4 separate regions of the Homo sapiens genome follow, and all the other regions are linked to region 1. The links are contacts of gene promoters, found by promoter capture Hi-C in human tissues and cell types (Jung and others, 2019). All regions are on one chromosome and are shown on one strand. Each heading gives the region's core, a stretch centred on a gene start or on the middle of the fragment in contact. The rest is flanking DNA. Distances are from core to core; before and after follow the strand shown.

What was found. The method cuts DNA at HindIII sites, captures the fragments that hold promoters and counts their contacts. A contact is called where the count stands out against the background at its distance.
Region 2: a fragment that was not itself captured here is called in contact with the fragment with the promoter of CSNK2A2 in region 1 in 4 of the 25 tissues and cell types used here (adrenal gland, bladder, dorsolateral prefrontal cortex and 1 more).
Region 3: a contact is called between a fragment that was not itself captured here and the fragment with the promoter of CSNK2A2 in region 1, in 2 of the 25 tissues and cell types used here (liver and spleen).
Region 4: a fragment that was not itself captured here is called in contact with the fragment with the promoter of CSNK2A2 in region 1 in 1 of the 25 tissues and cell types used here (pancreas).

What each region holds. Positions count from the first base shown.
Region 1 is chr16:58,196,605-58,200,933 of GRCh38, reverse strand. It overlaps CSNK2A2 (casein kinase 2 alpha 2), which reads left to right and starts at 2,828. Exons shown (of 12, transcript NM_001896.4): 1 at 2,828-3,301; 2 at 4,090-4,201. The coding sequence starts at 3,198. It also overlaps the pseudogene RN7SL645P. RefSeq lists silencers at 2,475-2,604, 2,655-2,924, 3,325-3,394. The HindIII fragment of the contact is 10,880 bases long and covers 1-4,329 here.
Region 2 is chr16:58,537,926-58,541,964 of GRCh38, reverse strand. It overlaps CNOT1 (CCR4-NOT transcription complex subunit 1), which reads left to right. Exons shown (of 49, transcript NM_016284.5): 34 at 345-464; 35 at 2,006-2,197; 36 at 3,051-3,193; 37 at 3,699-3,807; 38 at 3,905-4,039. Among named protein-coding and RNA genes, the nearest start is that of SNORA46, 8.7 kb to the left of the region's middle. The HindIII fragment of the contact is 7,254 bases long and covers 1-4,039 here.
Region 3 is chr16:57,883,331-57,887,414 of GRCh38, reverse strand. It overlaps CNGB1 (cyclic nucleotide gated channel subunit beta 1), which reads left to right. Exons shown (of 33, transcript NM_001297.5): 33 at 2,958-4,084. The coding sequence ends at 3,251. Among named protein-coding and RNA genes, the nearest start is that of KIFC3, 83 kb to the right of the region's middle. RefSeq lists enhancers at 2,733-3,280, 3,281-3,828. The HindIII fragment of the contact is 6,440 bases long and covers 1-4,084 here.
Region 4 is chr16:58,577,143-58,581,002 of GRCh38, reverse strand. It overlaps CNOT1 (CCR4-NOT transcription complex subunit 1), which reads left to right. Exons shown (of 49, transcript NM_016284.5): 12 at 243-370; 13 at 2,064-2,304. Among named protein-coding and RNA genes, the nearest start is that of SNORA50A, 19 kb to the right of the region's middle. The HindIII fragment of the contact is 5,349 bases long and covers 1-3,860 here.

The DNA of each region.
Region 1 (4,329 bases), core at 1,579-4,078:
CAAAGTCCACTTTTTCCATTAATTTTTTTTTCTAGTTTTTATTTTGAAAATTTTCAAATTCTACCAAAAAATTGCAAGCTCATGTACTGTTCAACTACATTCACTAATTATCAAAATTTTCCCCCAATTCCTCCCCACTCTATGCATGCTTATGCTCTCAGAAACCCACATTTTCCTGGAGAACAATTTGAGACTAAGTTGCAAATATTGATTCTTCATCTCTACACACTTGGCATGTAACTCCTAAAATTATGGGATTCTCCTGCATAACTAAATACAATGATCATACTCACAAACTTTAACATTGATACAATATAACGTTGTGTAATATACATTAACATTGTGTAATATACATCCTATATTCAAATTTCCCCTGCAGTAACCTTCTATTAGGTTGGTGCAAAAGTAACTGCGGTTTTCGCCATTACTTTCAATTGAATTTCAATAACTTTTGCACCAGCCCAATATGAGCTGTATTCTTTCTCTTTCCCTCCTTTCCTTTCTACTTTAAAAAAAAATCCAGACTCTAATTCAGAATCATACACTTCATCTAATTATGTCTCTAAGTCTTCAGTAACAAGAATACGAATCTAGGGTTTCGTTTGGTTTTCTTTCTCCTAGTGACATTGACTTTTTGAAGAACTCAGGCTAGCTGTTTGGCAGAATGTCGCCCAGCTTGGATTTGTCTGATGGTGTCCTTATCATTAGATTCAGGTTAAATGTTTTGGCAGGAGGACCACATGGGGGAGGTGTCCCTTCTCAGTGCATCACATCAGAGGATCAGTTGGTTCCCTACTGATGAGAAGTTTGGACCATGGGTAAGGTGGTGACCTCGTTTCCCCTTGGTAATTCCTAAGTCATCTGTGGGGTAGCACTGTATTTACTGAAGGTCTCTGACTGTGGCAAATGCTGGGAGAGTCAGTGGTGAGCGCCCACACTCTGTCCTTGCTCTTGTGCTGTTTTTACAAAGGAGGGGACAGACAATAACCCAGGAAACAAATAATGACAAGATATGCAGTTTGATGAAGGACGTGGATAGGGTGCTGAGATAGAGAAGTATCAACTCTAGAGAAAGTGATCTTTAAGCTGAGACTTGAGCTGGAGGCATGCCTGTAGTCCCAACTCCTCAGGAGGCTGGGGTGGGAAGATCGTTTGAGCCCAGGAGTTCTGGGCTGTAGTGTGCAATGCCAATCAGGTGTCCACACTAAGTTTGGCATCAACTATGATGACCTCCTGGGGCTGGAGGACCACCAGGTTGCCAGGTGGCAAACAGCAGGTCAAAACTCCTGTTCGGATCAGTAGTGGGATCATGCCTGTGAATAGCCACTGCACTCCAGCCTGGGCAATATAGAGACACCCTATTTCTAAAAAAATACTACTAATAAAGAAAAAGGTGAAATTTGAATAGGAAAAAGGAGACACCCTTGGGAAGGTGGGGTGGAGGGGTTGGGGGTGGCTCCTAGTTAAGCTTGGAGGATAGAAGGAACCAAAAGACGGATGCACGGTGGTCTCAGGGAGGGAGGAATGAGCAGAGAAAGGCCCTAGGCCTGGAAATAATCATATTGAACACATGCTATCCTAATAGTGAACACCATCCTAAGTGTTTCACATGGTTTACCTTGTTTAATTCTCCTTGCAGCCCTGTGAAGTGAGCGTTATTACTGGTTTTATGCTGTAGAATCTGTGACACAGAGAGGTTGAGTAATTGCCCTAAGGTCACACAGCTTCTAAGTAGCAGTGCTGGATAGATCTGACTCCACAGACTGTGCTCTTAGCTGTGTCAAGCAGGAAGGCCCAGGGTTTCATCCAGAAAACAGAATGTGAAAAGGGACTGGAATGAAAGCAACCTGTACTGGGTGCAGAGGTGCTGTCGATAAAGGATGAGGGATGGGAAAGGAAGACAGAAGAAAGGCCTAGAAGATCAAAGGAGAAGGGTGTTCAAGGCTGCAGGCAGCACTGGAAGCCAGGCCAGCTCAGTTGACCACCTACTCTGGGCACATCCCCAACCCAGCCTGTCCCTTCAGGTCGGATTTGCAATTCTCCTGCTCTCCCTCCTCCTAAACACAAACAGGAGATTTACACTCTCAAAGTCTCTCCCCACAAATGACTTATTAATCACAAAGGGAAAAATTGTAACTTTGCAGTGGCACAACCTGGTCAATGCCAGCTTAACCAAGTGACCAAAGTGGATATTCAGGGAAGGCTCTGGAAGGGCATTTGGGGGAAGTGTAGAAAGGTTTTGTGAGGAGCACTCTGAATGACGGGGGTAGGAAGCCTTGGGGACTGAGGAGTCTACCCTAACAGGGCAGGGTCCAGAGGGGGAAGGAGGGGTATGTCTCGGGGGAAGGGAGAAGTATTGAGGTGGGGGAGGTTCTGAGGTTTGAGTGAGGCCCTGGGGAGGGACTTGACAGTTTGGGTGACAGGAGGGTCAGAATAGGGTCAGTATGGGATGTGTTGGGTGGGTAAAAGCTGGGTGAGTGCAGGGCTGGGGATAGGGTCTCCAAGGACAGTGAAAGGGTCGGGAGTCGCGGGCGAGGGCTCTAGGGCAACGGCCAGTGGAAGGGGGGGCTCCTGTGGCGTGAAGTCAAGCCAGCCCGAGGGTGAGGCGATTTGGACAGTCCGACCTGTGGCGGCGGGAGGGCGAGGGTGGCGGAGGGCGCGAGGTAGGCGGCGGGGCGTGCCGGGGCGGGGCCGGGGCGGGGCCGGCACCGCCCGGCGGGTCCCCCCGCGCTCCAGGGGGCGCTGTGAGCCTGGGCGGCCCCAGGCCGGGCGGCGGCCGCTCCCAGTGAGCGCGGCCCCTTTTCCGGGTTTCCTCCGCCTCCTCCTCCTCTCCTCCTTCTTCTCCGCTGCCGCCGCCGCTGCCCCTTTCCCGGCCGGTGGCTGCCGCTGCCGGTGCCGCCGCCGCCGCCTCCTGGGGGCCGCGAGCCGAGCGGAGACCGCCGCGGAGCGCGAGCGCCGCCCGCCCCGCCGCCCCGCCGGCCGCTCCAGGGCCGGGCCGGCTCGGCCGGCGCCCCCCGCGCCCCCAGCCCGCCCGCCCCCGCGGGCCCGGCCTGGCGCGGCCGCCCGCCGCCGCGCTCCTCCTCCTCCTCCTCCAGCGCCCGGCGGCCCGCTGCCTCCTCCGCCCGACGCCCCGCGTCCCCCGCCGCGCCGCCGCCGCCACCCTCTGCGCCCCGCGCCGCCCCCCGGTCCCGCCCGCCATGCCCGGCCCGGCCGCGGGCAGCAGGGCCCGGGTCTACGCCGAGGTGAACAGTCTGAGGAGCCGCGAGTACTGGGACTACGAGGCTCACGTCCCGAGCTGGGGGTAAAGCCGTCGCCGCCCCCCGCCGGGCCCGCTGATCCCTGCCCCCGCCCGGCCACCCCCTGCGAACCGCACTCGGGCCCGGTGGTGTCTCCCGCCGACCCCTCCGCGGGCCCGCAGGGAGGCAGAGGTCCCGCTCTCGCACATGTCCTCGTCTTCCTCTTCCCTCCCCTTTACCCCCGTTTCGTCCCTTTCTCCCCGCTTTGCGCACCCCTTTCCCCCAAGGAATGCTTTTTTACTCGGGGAGAAGTGTGGGGTCCAGGGATCGACGCCGGGTGGAAGTGAGGGAGCTGCCCTTCCTCACACTTCTGGGTTTCCACTGGGGTGGGAAGTCAACAGCTGTCCTTTGGAGCTATTAAAATGCCCTGCCTTTTAGGTTTTCTGAGATGAGGTGGTGGGAGGAAATTTCTTAAAGACGTCCAGATTTTTAAAACAGGCATTGTCTACCTTGAAGATGTGAAACGAGAAGCAGGTGCTGGGGAGCCGCGGGGCACAGGGGGCACCCTCTAGGCCTTCAGGACGGGTGCTTTGCTCGCCCCTCTGGATTGGCTCAGAGCGTTGCCTTCCTGCCCCATCTTCCCAAGTTAGGAGAGACCAATTAGGTTAGGAGCTCTGCAGAGTGAAGGGAGCCAAGATTATGTCGTGGCTTTCATTTAGGGAATGAGTTGTGACGTGATGTATAGACACTTCCAAGTGTTTGCCTGGTGGAAGCGGCTGAATGACGTGTACAGTGGGCATAGGCTTGGTTAACCCCCAGTCCTGGCATTTATGTGTGTGTCTTCCTTTTACAGTAATCAAGATGATTACCAACTGGTTCGAAAACTTGGTCGGGGAAAATATAGTGAAGTATTTGAGGCCATTAATATCACCAACAATGAGAGAGTGGTTGTAAAAATCCTGAAGGTGAGTGTCCTATGAGTGGTATGTAACATTTTCCTCCCCACAGGGCAAAAGTTTGTAAGGTACCCCAGTCACATTCTATAATGGGCAATGCAAGCTTGAATTTAATTTAATTTATTTGTTTAGAGTCA
Region 2 (4,039 bases), core at 675-3,174, 340 kb before region 1:
CTTCTCACATTAATGGTTGCTTATTGTTCCCAGTGAGACAGTGAGAAATCTGATAATATTTACCAGCTTCAAGGGAGAATTGCACTGGCATCGTCCCATGTGAGGCATTTTCCAAGAGAAACTCTCAGTTAATTTATAAATGAGGTGACTCTTAGCAGGATTCAGGGAAATGAGAAGCCCTCTTCTGAACTGCATTTGTGTGTGCGTGCATGCTTAATCATGCTGTTATATGTTGTAATGACTCTTGTGTCCCTGAGCTTACCCACATGCAGACTTTCCACTTTCAAAACAGTTTATTTTGATTATTGAGTGAATTCTGTCAAAATAGGTTTTCTTCTTTCAAGGTTGGTGGTGTGGACCCAAAGCAGTTGGCTGTTTACGAAGAGTTTGCACGCAATGTTCCTGGCTTCTTACCTACAAATGACTTAAGTCAGCCCACGGGATTTTTAGCCCAGCCCATGAAGGTAAATGTGTTTTAGATTAAATTGAGTGTTTTGCCAATTAATTTAAATGTTTTTGACATTTAATATATGTTTTTGACTTGCTTCCTGGGAGAATAATTTACAGGGGAAAAAACACCTATAGTTTTTGAGTTGTAGGTATTCTTTGTGTCCAATTAAGTATGACATACAGGGGATTAAAGAAAAATTGACATGGGTGTGGGTGATTTAACTTTAATGTTCGGCCTAATTAGGGGAATTCTCATGGTAACATAATAACTTTCGGTTTTTTATTTTTAAATTTTATTATTTATTTTTTTGAGACAGGGTCTTTCTCTGTCACCCAGGCTGGAGTGCAGTGGCGCGATCTCAGCTCATTGCAACCTCCACCTCCCAGACTCAAGCGATCCTCCCACCTCAGCCTCCTGAGGAGCTAGGACTACAGGCGTGTGCCACCATGCTCAGCTAATTTTTGTATTTTTTGTAAAGATGGGGTTTTGCCATGTTGCCTAGACTAGACTCAAACTGCTGACCTCAAGTGATCGCCTACCTTGGCCTCCCAAAGTGCTGGGATTACAGGCCTGAGCCATTGTGCCCAGCCTTCCCATTTTTTAAATAAAAGAATTTTCTAAAATTTTCAAAGGTGTTTACAGAAAACTTGGAAATATAGGGAAAAATATTTTCCCCCGAACCGGTCGATAGTAAGTTGCTGACCTGATACCCCCATCGCTCCTGAATCCTTTGGTTTGTATTTCTTACAAAACCTTTTTCCTTTGGTTTGTATTTCTTAAAAAACCCTTTTCCTGTGTGACCATGGTACAACCATTAAGGTCAGAAATGAATACTAATAACCTTACTCCATCTAATTCATAGACCTCACTCGAGTTTCACCATGTATCCCAATAATGTATAGTAAAAGACCTGTTTTAGAATCACACATTTCTTCAGTTGTCATATTTTTAAAGTCTCCCTCAGTTCTAGCTGGTGTAGGTAACTCAGTTTTTCCTCATCTTTCATGACCATAACACTTCTGAATATTATAGGCTAATTATTTTCTAAATGACTTGATTTGTTTGTCCAGTGTATTCTCATGACTAGGTTCAGGTAATGTGTTTTTAAAAATAGGAATAGCTCAGAAGTAATGCTGTATTCTTACTCTATCCTATCAGGCTTTGACAGTTGGACTGAGTACTGTATTTTTCATGGTTTGAAACACTTACTTTCTTAGGATATAGAGGGCTTAGTAGATGGTACAAGTGGTGCTGCCCTCAGTCTGTCTCATTGTTACTAATGCTCTCTTTTATCACTTGATTATGCTGCTGTCTGCCAGGTTTTCCTCTCTCAAATGAAACACCTCTTCCCTTATGCCTGCCTTGTACTGTGCCACTTGATGGTATTAATTCTGAATAGCTCAGGAAGAAGGAAAAGAAGAGGCCCTCCATGTTTGAATGTAAAAATAAGAAAAAGGGAGTAAACATACTAGTAGACCTCTATTTGATACATGTGTCAATAAAAAACCTTAACATTCTTTTGTCTCTTGTTGGTTGTTTCCTTCTGTAAAACAGCAAGCTTGGGCAACAGATGATGTAGCTCAGATTTATGATAAGTGTATTACAGAACTGGAGCAACATCTACATGCCATCCCACCAACTTTGGCCATGAACCCTCAAGCTCAGGCTCTTCGAAGTCTCTTGGAGGTTGTAGTTTTATCTCGAAACTCTCGGGATGCCATAGCTGCTCTTGGATTGCTCCAAAAGGTTGGTTCTTAAGCTATTACTTTTAGAAAATGCTAGGTGTGTAAACATTTATTGACCTGCACCACCATCTACATATTTATGCAGTTATGCTTAAGATTTCATAATATAAATCAAGTTCTGTAAGTAGGTGATTTTTTTTTTTTCCAACGTAGAATGTAGTCATGGCAGTTTTGAATGGTAAACTTGGAAATCTTCATTTTTTTTCTTAAAGATATTCTGGAAATGTGATTTGAAGAAACTTTAAAAGGTAGCCCTTTAGAGGGGTGTGTGTGTCTGTGTGTGTGTGTGTGTGTGTGTGTGTAAGAGACAGGGTCTCTCTCTGTCAGGCTTGAGTGCAGTGATGTGATCATGGGCTTAAGTGAACCTCCCACATCACCTTCTCGAGTAGCTGGTATTACAGGTGCTCACTGCCAAGCCAAGCTAATTTTTAATTTTTTTGTAGAGACAGGTCTTGCTTTGTTGTCCAGGTCGTTCTCAATCTCCTGGGCTCAAGTGGCCCTCCCTCCTGAGCCTCCCAAAGCGCTAGGATTATAGACATGAGCCACTGAGCCCAGCTGCCCTTTAGATTTTGAGGGACAAGTTGATCCAATAATTTGGATCAGGGTAGGTAGGGAGCCCTGGATTTTAACTACAGCAGAGCCTTTTATGACAATGAAGAGCACAGAATGAACTTAAATCAGATAGAATTTAGAGTGTGTGTGATAGGCAACTGAAAGGGATGTTTGGAGAGTGGAAAGGACAGGGAGGCTTTGGAAGGTATTTGGTACTTGGCATTGAGATTTGGTTTCTGGCTGTGATAGTTGGGCCAAGCACTGTATTTTTCATGGTTTTGAACGCTTTCTTTCTCCCATAGGCTGTAGAGGGCTTACTAGATGCCACAAGTGGTGCTGATGCTGACCTTCTGCTGCGCTACAGGGAATGCCACCTCTTGGTCCTAAAAGCTCTGCAGGATGGCCGGGCATATGGGTCTCCATGGTGCAACAAACAGATCACAAGGTCAGTAGCCATCTTCGAAAAGTAGTGAGTATTGGACTGCGACTGCCTTTTGACATAGATAGTACTGTTTATGTCCAGGGGTTTCCCTTTTTTCTAGTAGGTAGGTCGGACACTTAGACTTCCTACTTCTGAGAGGTGAGAATTGTTAAGTAGTTGTTTTCCATCTGGTCTCTACCTTCTCCCCATGTTGGATATAGAAAACCAGTACCTTGTTTTGGGGAATAAATTGTAGGTCATTGTTTTAAAAGGTTACAGTGATTTCTCAGAAGTGGTATTCGTGTATAAGTATTTTAATGTCTTAAATGGAATACTCTGTATCCTAGGATTTGAAAGGAAAGCTTGGGCTATCTGTTCTATTTCATTACTGGCTGTTTTTAAATTTGGACACTGATTTGGAGTTGAATCTCAAGGCATTCTTAGTTTGGAGCAAATTTCCATTGAGTAAAATGGGCCCTTTTACAGTATGGTTAAGCCTATATGAGTAAAGATATTGAACTTTTTCTAGGTGCCTAATTGAATGTCGAGATGAATATAAATATAATGTGGAGGCTGTGGAGCTGCTAATTCGCAATCATTTGGTTAATATGCAGCAGTATGATCTTCACCTAGCGCAGGTATGGAAGGAATTTACTTGCACGGACAAAAGGACTCAGGGAAGTACGTTTGCTCTTAAGTGTTTTCCCTCTCACATTATGTTTTCTGTGTTGCCAGTCAATGGAGAATGGCTTAAACTACATGGCTGTGGCATTTGCTATGCAGTTAGTAAAAATCCTGCTGGTGGATGAAAGGAGTGTTGCTCATGTTACTGAGGCAGATCTGTTCCACACCATTGAAACCCTCATGAGG
Region 3 (4,084 bases), core at 358-2,857, 310 kb after region 1:
TGCCAATTCTTGAGCCATTCGGTGTGGCCAGGGCACTATGGTGCTCTAAAGAGGCCTGGGTCACATACCCGCCCCTGGACTGAGAGTAGGCTGGGAGCAGGATCTCTAAAAGGCAGTCTTGATACTGTTGCAGAGGTTAGAGGAGAGGGTATGAGAAGCAAATGTCCGGCCCCAGAAGACAGTGTGTCCTCATATTTAATACTGTGTCTGTGACAATTTAAGATATTTGGGTCAGGCATGGTAGCTCACACTTGTAATCCCAGCACTTTGAAAGGCCAAGGCAGGAGGATCTCTTCAGGCCAGGATTTCAAGACCAGCCTGGGCAACATAGCGAGAACTTGTCTCTACAAATTTTTTCTTTTTTTCTTTTTAATTAGCCAGGCTTAGTGGCACATGCCTGTGGTCCTAGCTACTTGGGAGGCTGAGTTGGGAGCATCACTTGAGCCCAGGAAGTCGAGACTGCAGTGAGCTATGATTGCACCATTGCACTCCAGCCTGGGTGACAGAGTGAGACCCTGTCTCAAAAAATGAAAAATAAAAATTTGAAAGTGAAAACCTCTCACACAGGCAAAATGCCAAATGTCCCCACCCCCATAAACCTATGGGGGACATTAAAATTAGTTCTGGGACTTTTTTCTGTGACCAAAGCCAAGAATACCAAGTGGAATGATTACATTAATTATGTCTGTTCACGGCTGTCCTTTAGGAAGTCTGCTGGGGATCTGGAGAGGGACTGGGGTTAGGCAGACTGGGCTTAACAGTCTACACAGCAGAGTTCAAAGGAGCCCAGTGAACTCAGTCTCAATCCAGCCTGGTGTCAGAGTCCAGGAGACCCATCCAGATGTTGTTTGACAGTAGAAGTCTGGTGAGTGACATCAAAGCCATTTGGGGTACCAAGACATTCTCCAGATACAGCCACCAATGGCCCCAGACTGAGGAAAGATGTGATTGCCTGGCTCACAAACTGTCAAGGTCAAGGTGGAGCTGGCAAGTGGGGGTCTTCAGTGCTGGCTGCTGTGAGGGCTGACTAGACAGGAACTCCAAGGGTGCTCCCAGTACACCAAGAGCTTCAGCTGGGGTGGGCTTGTGGCTCCTAAGTGGTAGCTCTTCAGCAAGGGGGCTTTAAGATGGGAATTAAATTTGCATGAGTGTTCCATTAAAAGGCACTTCCCTTCCAAATCAGAACAACCAGGGCAGAATGGCAGAGTACAGGGAGCTCTTAACTAGACATTCAGAGACACAAATCCAAATCCCAGCTCTGTCACCCACTAGCTCCATGACCCAGGAAGCCCCTCAAGCTTTCCGAGACTTGGATTACTGAGGGTTGCCTCATGAGGTCATAAAGATCAGGCAGGATTACCTTGGAGGCCTTTTAGAAAAGCATGTTGAACACAGCAAAGCACTTTTCTAACTTCCCATGAGCTGCTGATTCCAGCCATAGCACCATGCTTCAGGAAGTTCCACGATGCTCACCATCTAAGCATCCTGCCCTGGAAATGTGTTGTCAAGAGTTTAGGGTGGGCTGGGCACAGGTGGCTCACCCCTGTCATCCCAGCACTTTGGGAGGCCAAGGTGGGCAGATCACTTGAGGTCAGGAGTTTAAGACCAGCCTAACCAACATGTAAAACCCCATCTCTACTAAAGATACAAAACCTTAGCCAGGCATGATGGCACACACCTGTAATCCCAGCTACTCGGGAGGCTGAGGCAGAAGAATCGCTTGAACCTGGGAGGCAGAGGTTGCAGTGAGCTGAGATCACACCACTGCACTCCATCCCGGGTGGCAGAGCAAGACTCCGTCTAAGAAAGAAAGAAAGAAAGAAAGAAAGAAAGAAAGAGAGAGAGAGAGAGAGAGAGGAAGGAAGGAAAGAAGGAAGGAAGGAAGGAAAAAAGGAAGGAAGGAAGGAAAGAAGGAAAGAAAGAAAGAAGACAAAAAGAATAGAGTGTAGGGTGGACAGGGGAGGGTGGGACAGGGGCACCAAAACATAGGGAAACACTGAGACAGAGGGAGAAGCATGTCCCAAGAGAGGCCTTGGGTTCTTGGAGCATTTTGGCTGCCCCCTCTCCATTCCTCCTTTCCTTCAATATCCTATGACTTGAGCAAATGGCGCAGGTCTCTCTGCACAAGCACATTGACTGCTCTCACTTGAAACTCACAAACACCACTTCACATGGGTCTTGGGCAGCTGAGGACCATCCTGGCCTCCTCTGGGGGCTGCTCCCTCTCCAGTTTCCTTCCGTGCAGAGATGGGGTCAGGCAGAGTGGGAGGGGCCACAGGTATCCGCAAAGGCTTGATTTAATTACCCAGTCCCCTACTGATGTGAAGACCATGGCCATCGTTTGTGGGAGGCAGCACAGGCTGGAGGCTGGAGGTATCCATCAGGTCCCCACACATGGGGTCAGCGCAGCCCAATAGCAGGGGTACCCAGCCCCAGGGTATCCCTGAGGATCTCAACCTTTGAGACTTCCCAGAAAGGGGGCCCAGCCCCAGCAGCCTCTCCCTTCATCACTTTTTACCCTGTTTGCTTGGAGTTTTTCTCATCCACTCCAGGAGTGCCCACCCCTGGTAACAGATGGTTGGTTCAGCCTTTGCAGAGGCCTTGCGGGTACTCCCTCAGAGTCACTGCCTGGCTTGCTTCAATAGCTCGGGGGAGGGGCCCTGAACTTGAAACAACAGCCTCATCCCAGCTTCCAGCCCCACAGCCTAGATCTAAGACATCCCAAGACTTTCCACGAAATCCAACCGGGACTTTTAATCTGTACACTTCCCCATAATGTATTTTGTTTCTCCTAAATAACCCCGATGCGGCTCCACCCCACCCACTAGATTTCACCCGCTGTGTGTTCCGCTGCCCTCTTTGGGGGTCCAAAAAGGCTGGAACAGGGAGGTGTCCAAGACCCTTCCAAGACCCCTCCGAGAGTCTGTGCCTCACGAGTCACCCTTTCTGGATTCCAGGCCAAGAGCTCGCAAGACGTCAAGGGAGAGGAAGGCTCCGCCGCCCCAGACCAGCACACGCACCCAAAGGAGGCCGCCACCGACCCACCCGCGCCCCGGACGCCCCCCGAGCCCCCGGGGTCTCCACCGAGCTCTCCACCGCCTGCCTCCCTTGGGAGGCCGGAGGGAGAGGAGGAGGGGCCGGCCGAGCCCGAAGAGCACTCGGTGAGGATCTGCATGAGCCCGGGCCCGGAGCCGGGAGAGCAGATCCTGTCGGTGAAGATGCCGGAGGAAAGGGAGGAGAAGGCGGAGTAAGGTGGGGTGAGGCGGATCCCGCGCGCAGTTCCAGCAGGTGTGTCCCCAGCGCCCGCTGCGCCCCTGCGCCCCAGCGCCCCACCTTCCCCCACGGCTCAAGAGAAGATGCTTTTCCGTAGTCGTGACCTCAGTGGCTGCAGCTCTGACCGTCCCGCCAGCACGCCAGCCCCGACTCAGCTCCTCGCGGGGCTGGGCCTGAGCTCGACAAGTTGCATCAAGTGTTCGAGTCCCTGAGCTCTCACTATCATTTGAGAGCCCTACCTTTTCCTGACTGTTCCTCTTTTTAAGAACAAAATGATTTTCCACTTTTAAAGTTCATGGGTGAGGGATAAAATGAGGCTCCAATACATGGGAAGCTTTGCTGAAAAAGTAAAGTGTTATTGAATGTGTGGGGTTTCCCCTCAGGAATTTGTCTAACACATTTCAAGGATAGAAAATACTTCACTGCCGGGCATGGTGGCTCATGCCTATAATCCCAGTGCTTTGGGAAGCCGAAGCAGGAGGATCACTGGAGGCCAAGAGTTGGAGAGCAGACTGGGCAACATAGCGAGACCTCATCTCAAACAAAAACAAAAACAAACAAAAAAACAATAGCCAGGCGTGATGGTGTGCACCTGTAGTCCCAGCTACTGGAGAGGTTGAGGCAGGAGGATGGCTTGAGCCCAGGAGTTTCTGGCTGCAGTGAGCTGGACACAGTGAGACCCTGTCTCAAAAAAACTAAAAGATAGCCCTGCACAGTGGTTCACATCTGCAATCCCAGCAGTTTGGGAAGCTGAGATGGGAGGATTGTTTGAGACCAGGAGTTCAAGACCAGCCTGGGCAACATATTGAGA
Region 4 (3,860 bases), core at 41-2,540, 380 kb before region 1:
TCCCTAATTGGCTCAGAAATGTCTTTTAACAGTTGTTATGATTGATAATCCAGACAGGGTTTCATTATGCACCTTTAATGTGTCTGAATTATGTGTGGTTTTCAAAGGGCAAATAATTAAGATTTTAAACGGGAAATTGCCATGCTAATAACCTTAAGATTGACAATAGCCTAGTGAAAACATTTCAGATTTTTATAGCATTCACAATCATTTATGGTGGTAAGCATTTTCTTTCATTGCAGCTCTCCTTCATTCAACATTCCCTTATAAATCCAGAGATCTTCTGTTTTGCTGACTATCCCTGTCATACTGTTGCCACTGATATTCTGAAAGCACCACCAGAGGATGACAATCGAGAAATTGCCACATGGTAAACACTTTGATTCATCTTTCATTTAAAAGATTACTTCTTATTTTGTGAAATATAAAGTTAATAGTAAGCCAAGTACATAGTTAACAGGTTTAAATGAAGCAGTAGTTTTAGTGACCTTACTTATCTTAAGTATTTATAGAGGGGGTTGGTAGATAAATTCTTTTTCAGTCTCTATCGTTAGTTATATCTTGTAAGGTCTGTCTTTAGGTGTTCTTTTAAAAGCATCAAATCTGAAAGTATCAAATGTTGGAAAGATTTGTACTTCCTCCTTTCTCCCTTAGTATTGAGATTTCTTCTCTGTAGAGCTTATGCCTTTTTTTTTTTTTATTTGTAAGTTGCTCAAGGTGGCCAACCTGTCAAATCTAATAGTTTTCTTTTCTTTTCTTATTTATATTTTTGGGATGGAGTCTCGCTCTGTTGCCCAGGCTGGAGTGCAGTGGCACAATCTCAGGAGTGCAGTGGCACAATCTCAGCTCACTGCAACCTCCGCCTCCCCGGTTTAAGCGATTCTCCTGCCTCAGCCTCCCGAGTAGCTAGGATTACAAGTGCTCACCACCGCCCTGGGCTAAGTTTTATATTTTTAGTAGAGATGAGGTTTTACCATGTTGGCAAGGCTGGTCTTAAACTCCTGACCTCAAGTGATCCATCCGCCTCGGTCTCTCAAAGTGCTGGGATTGCAGGTGTGAGCTACAGCACCTGGCCAAATCTAATGCTTTTCAGCTAAAGTATCTAGTTTCTCTGAGTTCCAGTTTCAAATTTTCGAGGTAGAATCTTAGTCCGGCCTGGTGTGTATATCAGGTTTCTCTTGGAACTCTGTCCCGTCATTCCTCTCTGTGAATGTGTGAAGAAAGAATGGTACAAGTACTTTGATCATTTTTGAAGTACGCAGGGCTACAGGGAGAGAGCGCGGCCTGAATTGTTCCCCAAAGGGATCTAGTTCATAATGTATCTTCAATTTTTTTCTATCTATACCCTCCCAGAACACATTTCTGTTATTGATCAAATAATTGTCTTTACTTTTTTTGGTGGTGGTGTGTTCTTTTCTTAGGTGGTAGCCAACATTAGATTTGAAAAATTGCTTATTTTTTTCCTTATGAGTCTAGTGTATATAGTAGTGTTTCTTCTTCATTTTATTTGAACAGATAAAGGGCTCTTTCCATTTTTATAAAGCTTAAATACCATTATCACATTAACAAATAACAGTTCCTTAATATAGGTAGTTATTTACATTTAAGTTCCCCAATTGGCTCAAAAATGTCTTTTAAAAATTTCTATGATTGAGAATCCAGACGCAGTCCATAGTTTCTTTTATTCTGTAAATCTGTCTTTGTTCTGTCTTTTAAATTTATTTTTTGCCATTGATTTGATAGAGAAATACAGCATTTGTTCTCTAGTCTACCCCATGTTATTTTCTTACCTGTTTTCTCATGGTGTTTACTTCATTCTCTATCCCCATGGTTTTCATGGGCTGAGGATAGAGTTAGATCTTCAGGCTCAGTTAAAGTCAACCAGTTTCAACCTCTTGGGGCAAAAATAATTCTTAAAGAGAGTGCTGTGGACTTCAAACTTCTAATATTAAAACATGACACCAACTTGGTTTTGTGCTTACAAGCTGGTATCACTTATTTTGAAAATTAATCTGTATACTTGGATTTTCATTGATAAAGCATGTTTCTTCCTTTCTCGTTAGGAAGAGCTTGGATTTGATTGAATCTCTGCTGAGGCTTGCAGAGGTTGGGCAGTATGAGCAAGTCAAACAGCTCTTCAGCTTCCCTATCAAACACTGTCCAGACATGCTGGTATTGGCCTTACTACAAATTAACACCTCTTGGCATACCTTGCGCCATGAACTTATCTCCACTCTGATGCCAATTTTCCTTGGAAACCATCCTAACTCAGCTATTATTTTGCACTATGCATGGCATGGGCAGGTAAGATGTGACCGTGTGCTTACCATTTTTTCATCTGAATAATTGATCTTCTTTGGAGTGTTGAGGAAGCTCAACCAGAGAAATTTTTTTTTACATCTCTGAATTATTATGACTTTAAAAGTCATACTGTCATAAAACTTGTTTTATCTTTTAGAATCATGTGAGCAATAAAATACAAGATCCCAAAAGCAAGGAGGCAAAATAATATTTAATAATTTTATTTTCTTTCCTTTTTTTTTTTTTTTTGAGATGGTGTCTTGCTCTGTCGCCCAGGCTGGAGTGCAATGGTGCAGTCTTTCTCACTGCAACCTCCATCTCCTGGGTTCAAGTGATTCTCCTGCCTCAGCCTCCTGTGGAGCTGGGATTACAGGCGTGCATCACCATGCACAGCTAATTTTTGTATTCTTAATAGAAGTGGGATTTCACCATGTTGGCCAGGATAGTCTCAAACTCCTGACCTCAAATGATCCACCCACCTCGGCCTCCCAAAGTTCTGGGATTACAGGTGTGAGCCACCACACCCGGCCAATATTTAATAATTTCAATATTAAGAAAGGTCTGTATTGCTAGGGCATCACTTTCCTTTTTATGCGAAGGAGCTTAAACATCTATCATGGAGGCAGAAGGTATTGATGTCATATGTTCACAAGAAATGAGAGATCACAGAGCAATTTTTAATTAGCACTCTTTTCTAATTTATCTAAATCCAACATTTACATTTTATTTCAGTTTGTGCTGAAATGCCTTTCAAGCCCCTGTGCTTTTTACCTCTAATTTTGTAGAATGTATTTGGCAAGTAAGTATTCTTTTGTCCACTGATTTTTTTCCCTCCCCTACTTTTTTTTTTTTTTTTGAGAGAGAGGATCTTGCTTGCCCTGTCACCTAGGCTGGAGTGCAGTGATGCAAACATGTCTCACTGCAGCCTCAACCTCCCAGGCTCAGTCAGTCATTCTGCCTCAGCCATCCTAAGTAGATGGGACCACAGGCACATGCCACCATACCCGGTTAATTTTTTGAATTTTTGTAGAGACAGAGTCTTGCCCTGTTTCCCAAGCTAATATCCTACATTATATGATACATGCAGAAAAAAACTTTCTTCCCCTTTACCCCGAGTGCCCTTTTTAGCTACTTTTTATCCTTTACCCATACTTGGAGTAGTTTATATTATATACAAGTGCTTTTTACAAATTAGTGAAATAAGGCTCTTTATTATAAGTGAAAAATGTTAGCCTTAGTTCTAGGTCATTCAGTTAGTTTCCCCTCCTTTCCTAGAGACTCAATTAACATTGTAGACTTTAACAGTTTACAAAATGCATGATAAACATTTAACCAAGCATTTGCAGTCCAGATGGTCTTCATTCCTTTCTCACCATAGCTGTGAGGTAGAAAGGGCTGGTAAACGAGCTGCATCTCCTCACTTGTGATTGAATACTTGTTCTAGCAGACCATCTGCCACTCTAGGACAATTAACTGGGATATTACTTAGATATAGCAATAGTAGTGGTCTTGCTGTTGCTTCTATGATAAATACTCACTGAATTCTAGATATTTGCATC